Linked DNA regions of Homo sapiens: region 2 is linked to region 1. Evidence: promoter capture Hi-C in human tissues and cell types (Jung and others, 2019). All regions are on one chromosome and are shown on one strand. The core of a region is centred on a gene start or on the middle of the fragment in contact, and the rest is flanking DNA. Distances in the headings are between cores, read along the strand shown. Region 1 holds the start of ZNF418 (zinc finger protein 418). Region 2 holds the start of ZNF264 (zinc finger protein 264).

What was found. Contacts are between HindIII fragments. The study calls those that stand out against the background at their distance.
Region 2: a contact is called between the fragment with the promoter of ZNF264 here and the fragment with the promoter of ZNF418 in region 1, in 1 of the 25 tissues and cell types used here (adrenal gland).

Annotation. Positions count from the first base shown.
Region 1 is chr19:57,933,884-57,937,004 of GRCh38, reverse strand. ZNF418 (zinc finger protein 418) reads left to right here and starts at 1,603. Exons shown (of 6, transcript NM_133460.3): 1 at 1,603-1,844; 2 at 3,103-3,121. RefSeq lists enhancers at 1,636-1,725, 1,318-2,200. The HindIII fragment of the contact is 9,006 bases long and covers 1-3,121 here.
Region 2 is chr19:57,189,822-57,193,071 of GRCh38, reverse strand. ZNF264 (zinc finger protein 264) reads right to left here and starts at 1,572. Exons shown (of 4, transcript NM_003417.5): 1 at 1,126-1,572. The coding sequence starts at 1,158. RefSeq lists a silencer at 1,057-1,326 and enhancers at 1,497-1,556, 1,567-1,656, 1,677-1,736. The HindIII fragment of the contact is 13,408 bases long and covers 1-3,250 here.

The DNA of each region.
Region 1 (3,121 bases), core at 354-2,853:
GATGGCGCCACTGCACTCCAGTCTGGGACAGAACGAGACTTTGTCTCAAAAAAAAAAAAAAAAAAAAAGAAAGAAAAACTTCTGTGAAGTGTAAATTTTTTTCACCATCCACTCATGTTTCAATTGACCTATTTCTGTCATCGCAGTTATTAGATAGTCGTTGGTAATAAGTTTCTGTAACTGGCATTTCACCTGTTTTTCTGGTATCATATTAGTTCCTCATGCAGAACACTCCCCGCTGTCACAAGAGAAACAAATGATAATCACTTCCCAGGAAAGATAACAAGCTCGATAATTTAACATACGCCTAGTGTCTCCAGGTGGAGATTATCACCACCATTACCAATACCAAGCTGAGATTTCTCTTTCATTGTTCTTTACCTGAGACTGACTTCAAGTTCCTAAAATGAGTTGAAAATATAAGTTAGAATACCAAGTAAGGGATATTACATGAATAAATGTTTTGCTGAATGAATTGGACACAATAATTGACTATATAAGCAGGAGAGTTGTTTTTCCATGGGAACGACTGATTGACCTTTGTACTCTTTCTTTAGCCTCTCCTCTATCTTCCTTGGCATGGTCCTATCTGGATTAGTTCTCTTTTGTCCCTGGCAGACTGAAAAACCAACTCTAATGCCTCAGAGTGAGGCAGGAGAATAGGGAATTAGGGTAACCAAGAATGAAGGCATAAGCAAAAGAACAGCAGGTGCAGCTAGTTCTAGGCAAGATGAGGCAGCACACAGGCCACGTCCTCACTCCTGTGGTAACAAGACAGAAGTCTCCACTTCAGCCTCTGATTGGTTGTGCACCAGTCCTTCATAGGATTGGAGGCCTTTAAAGAACTCTTGGGGTATTATAAAATTCTAGCTTATTCATGGCAAAAACCGCAATTACTTTTGCACCAACCTAATAAAACCCTAAAAAACATTGTAATCGGGGTTCTTGAGCCGCTTGGTCGCCTGCTCCCACACCTACATTCCACTTCTGTGGAGTGTACTTTCCCCTCAATAAATCTGCGCTTTCATTGGTCCGTTCTTTCGTTGCTTTTTTTGTGTGTTTTGTTCACTTCTTTGTTCAATGCGCCAACAACTGGACAACTCACAGCCAAGACATTCTATCCGGTAACAAGAGTGCATTCATGTGAATTATAACAGAGTAATGTTTATCAGCCTCTGCTTCCAGTGCAAGCATTCTGTGTCTAAACGATTGTATAAAGTGATACACGAATTTGGATTTGTAGCCTTTGGGGGCCTTCACAGTATTTTTAGCGCCTGGGAGCTTGAATTTACAGAAATGTGAATTAATATTTTTGCAAACACTTAGGTGGTCAGTTACAAACAGGGATTCCCCAGGAATCTCAATATGGCCTCTAAGGAGGGGCGAGACCATCCTCTGCCCTAAAAGGGTACGCGCTTTAATGAACCCCCTGAGGTAGGGCTGGGACTTCCCTGCAGAAGCGCCTTTGGGAAGCGGCAGCTTTACTACCTTGGAACCTGGGGAACTACATTACCCAGAAAGCTCTACATTGAATGACAGCGCAACAGAACCAGTAAGGGCTCAGAATAAAGGCGTTTCTGTGTGCGCACGTAACGTAGTGGCGGGATTCTCAGCGTTCTCTGGTAGCGACCATTTTGGTTAATGTTGGGTGTGTTTCTGCGGTTTGTGAGGTGAGAGGCGCTGGAGCTATGGGTCCGAACCGCGGTGTCTGAACCCAGAAGGTGAAGAGTCCTTCTTGCTGCACAGAGGCAGATCTTAGGCCCCGTAACGGCGCCCGCCGCTCCCGGCAGTGCTTTCCCCGCGTACTCGGGATGGCGGCGGCCGCGCTGAGGCTCCCGGCTCAGGTAATTGTGCCTTCCCTGCCCTCAGGTCACCTCATCCTAACCCGAATCCTGAAGCAGCGAGAGAGCGGCGACTGTTCACAGGTCTGCAGCCCGGACCCGGCGTCGGGACACTGAGGCGTTCGCGGGAGAGGTCCTTGTTTCTGACACCTGTGGGATGCGGTGGGGAGAGCGACAGGCACAGGGACCGGCGCGGGCTATGGCCTGGAGGACAGACCCGGGAGGATGGAACCTGGGGTCCACAGGCGCCTGTAGGGAACAACGTGTGAGGCGAAGCTTCTCCTGGAAGAGCAGGCTGGGGGCTGTGTATTCGCTGTGAAGACGCTAGAAGCCATGGAGAGTTTCGAAGAAAGGAGGGATGCGATCCAAGTCCAGGCTTTTAAGGTTTCCCAAAGGCCAAAGGAAGAACATAGTAGAGGAGATGAGGACCTTAGGGTTCTGGGAGGTTGACTCCTTTGTTGATAGATCACATAGGTGGTAGAGATGACATTTTGCACTGAGACACGCAGGTCAACCAGTCTGAGGTCACCTGGCTCCAGCGATAAGAAAAGGTTCAAGGAGACCTGAGCTTATCAGATCCCCTTTGTAACGTCTGCTTTCCCCTCAGACACTCCTGGCTACAAAAGCACGTAAAGAACCCACTGAGGGGGTCGGGCAAGGTGGCTCCCACCTGTAATCCCAGCACTTTGGGAGGCCGAGGCGGGCGGATCACCTGAGGTCGGGAGTTCGAGACCAGCCTGACCAACATGGAGAAACCCCGTCTCTAACAAAAATACAAAATTAGCCAGGCGTGGTGATGCCGCATGACTGTAATCCCAGCTACTCAGAGGCTAAGGCAGGAGAATTGCTTGAACTCGGGAGGCAGAGGTTGCGGTGAGCCATTGCACTCCGGCCTGGGCAACAAGAGCGAAACTCTGGCTCAAAAAAAGGAACCCACAGAGGGAATTAGAGGGTGTTCCATTCCCTCACTGGCCTTATTCCCCATTCACATGTTCTCTAGCTTGTGATGTCCTGGGACTCTTACTTGCCATTTTTTCAGTCCTTTGATCTGAGAACACTGGAGAAACCCTAAACCCAGAATCCTAAGTCCATGACACAGGATGTATGGAGGTATTCCCATTTCTGTCAACCCATGTAAACATACTTTGAAGGTTAACTACAGAGTTGGTACCAGGTCATGAAATGCTTAGAGGTAAAAATTCGGTGGGGAGGCAAGAGGGCGGCGAGGAGGTGATGTTACCACAGTCCCATTTGTCTGCAGGCATCATCTGGCTGCAAAG
Region 2 (3,250 bases), core at 323-2,822, 740 kb after region 1:
CATTAAGTCTATTTCAATTAGCCCTGAAAAACGTATCTGTGGGCCGGGCATGGTGGCTCATGCATGTAATCCCAGCACTTTGGGAGGTCGAGGTGGGCGGATCGCTTGAGGCCAGGAGTTGAAGACCAGCCTGGCAAATATGGTGAAACCCAGTCTCTACTAAAATACAAAAATCAGTCAGGTGTGGTAGTGCATGCCTGTAATCCCAACTACTCGGCAGGCTGGGGCAGGAGAATTGCTTGAACCTGGGAGGCAGAGACTGCAGTGAGCTGAGAGTGCACCACTGTACTCCAGCCTGGGCGACAGAGTGAGACCCTGTCTCAAAACAAAAAAAAGTATGTGAACACGGGCACAAAAAGCTCAGCATTCCTCACTGACCCCACAGAGCGGCACTGGAAGGGCTGCATCTACTTGGGGAACGACAGGCTCCAGACCAGCTTCCCATGCCCTCTGGGATCTCCCTGGGTCTCCCAGATCCCCCAAGGAAATTCCACAATGAACCAACCATCGGCCTCTTTCCTTACTGGGTTCCGACAGAACTTGTCTCTGACGCCAGGATACTTTGGGGCCACGGAACACGAGCGGCCAAGGATAATGCAGGCTGTAGCGATGAGAGTAAGGGCATCTGACTGGCCACAATGTCTGCAGTAGTTGCGGATGGCTAGAACATCCAGGAAAAGACCACACACTGTTGCCCTCCACGTCTCAGCGGCCGCAGGAAAACCATGGCAACCTTACACACCCTCCTGAGCCTCCTTAAACATACAACATACCTTGTCTCTGCTCGCGCATTTGTCGGCTTGCTACTGCCCTGCCCTCCCCTTCCCCCCTCAGGCCCCCAATTCATGCTGGAATGAGACCTGGTCCACCAGAGAATGCTTGCAGGCCAAGGATGATGGGAGTCCCCAGAGGAAGCATCATTCACTCAACAACCTACGGAGCTCCTTCCAGTAGGCCCAACACTCCTTACGGCCAGGTATAAATTAAGTGGCAAACCAGCTCCACACACCAAAGCGAACGACGACTGCGAAGACAAATCCAGGGGATACCTGGGCTCCCACCCACTTCGGAAACCGCCTCAGCGCTGGCAAGGAAGCGGCAACCGCGAAGCCACCGTCCACTCACCTGGGCCCGGTCCGTCAGCACCGCTGCCGCCATCACGTCACCCCCTGGGCCGCAGAGCTGGGACAGAGGAGCCCCGGGCGGCCTGACGGACCCCACCTGTGCCCGACCCTGGCCGGTTGCCCGGGGCTTCCAGGCGCGCTCGGGGCCGCCGCCTCCTCGGTGGCAACGGCGTTCCAGACGCAGGGCCGCCGCCTCCTCGGTGGCAACCGCGTTCCAGACCCAGGGCGCCGCCCCTGGAGACCGCGGGGCTGAAGGGCGGGGGAGGAGAGACCGCAGCTTGACGGCGACCCAGGAACAAACCCACGGAAGGGGTCAGGCTCGTACAAAGGTGCGGCGGGGATTCCTATCCTACTCCCCTGCTCGGTCCTGACTAGGGACCTGCAAAGCGGCCCCGACCGGGGCCCTCAGTGGCTACAGACCTCTCCAGACAGAAGTGCAGAAGAAAATGGCGTCCGCAGCGAGCAACCCGGAAGTCCCGCCCCCACCGGCGTGAGCCGTCGGAAACGTCCCCGTCCTAGGCCGTCGTTGGCCCAGCTCCCGCCGTACGCATAATGCACAGCCTTCTAAGTAGTGTAGTTTTCCTCATGTGTTCAACAACGGGAGGAACGCTTCACGGCGCAAGTTTTCCTCCCAGGGAAAGGCACTCCAGGACCCGAGGAGACGCTCCAGACCCACCTCTTTACGGTGGGCACAACTCGAGGGGAAGGATGGAGGGAGGGAACCGAGGGGCAAGGGTTACATTGCATTCTTCTCTCGGGAAAATCGGAGCTCGGGAGACAGGGACTTTCCTTCAGGTCAGGGCACAGGCAAAGGCGCAGAACTGGGTCCTCAGCTCGCCTGGCGACTGACCCCCTTTCACATCCCTCCTCCCCGGATCATCATCTTGGAAGACACAAAAAAGCCGAATGATCATCTGGAAGCCCTGCCCCGACACGTTGTGTGCGCAAACTGCCCTCTTTTGAGCCTTCTTTGGACCAGCACAGCCTCTACGTGATGCAGGGAGTCATGTATTTGGCCCAGACCACACAAAAAGTGGATTTGCCCACTTCTGAGGTGGGGAGGCTGCAAGTGGAGGAGGTTCGGAGGCTCAGGATGGTTAGTTTGAAATGTCTACAGAACCACAAAGTATCTCTGTCACAGGCAATTCGACTTACGACTGAATGTTGGAAGAAGGTTTGAGCATGAATATATGAATTTAGGAGTTACCTTACACTGTTATTTCAAGTCATGATATTGAGTGAGACCATCAAGGCAATGCATGTAGATGGAGAAGAAAATACACAGAGCATGAGCCGGGGACCAAGTCTACATCATTAAATGGTTGATGACAATATTACCAGAAAGGCCAGGTCCTTGCATCTAGATCCTGCTGCTTGCTGCACAGAAGGCCAGTCAGCAAGACAATGAGTATTGTCAGGGATGAAGGCTTTATTCGGTGCTGCAGCTGAGGAAAATGGGAGATCAATCTCAAATCTCTTTCCTCAACTGACTAAAACTAGGGGTTTATACATCAGGGAAGAAGTGTAACTATGTTTGAGAAAACAGGAATTAGGAAGGGGTAAGGAAGAGGAATGGGTCAACAGGCAGCAGATGGTCAGTTAGGCAATCATCATGGGTAAGGGGTATAGCATCTCGTTTTTCCAGATGTGGTAATCCAGTAAGTTTCAGTTTCTTTATACTATCTGGGAGGCCTGATGCTTGGTTTCCTGAGAAAGGAAATCAGATAAGACAAATAAAAGTGTCTCGAGTTTTAGGAAGGGGAGGCTCAATGTCTATAATGTGTTGATTCAAAAGAAACCATAAATATCAGTTCTATGGGACACTGGAGCTGGTTTCAGTTCCCTGTTTCTATTTATCAATTCCTCAATCATGGGGAATCTGGACGTGATCTTTCTGGCTGCTTTATGCTGAGGAGGGGTATTGTGGGTGGCTGCATACCATAGATGACCACGTGGCCACTCAGATTAACTCAAAGGTTAATCTAACGCTATAGTTTTCTTTCTTTCTTTCTTTTTTTTTTTTGAGACAGAGTTTTGTTCTTTCACCTAGGCTGGAGTGCAGTGGCACGATCTCCGCTCACTGCAACCTCTGCCTCCTAGGTTCAAGCGATCCTCCTGCCTCAGCT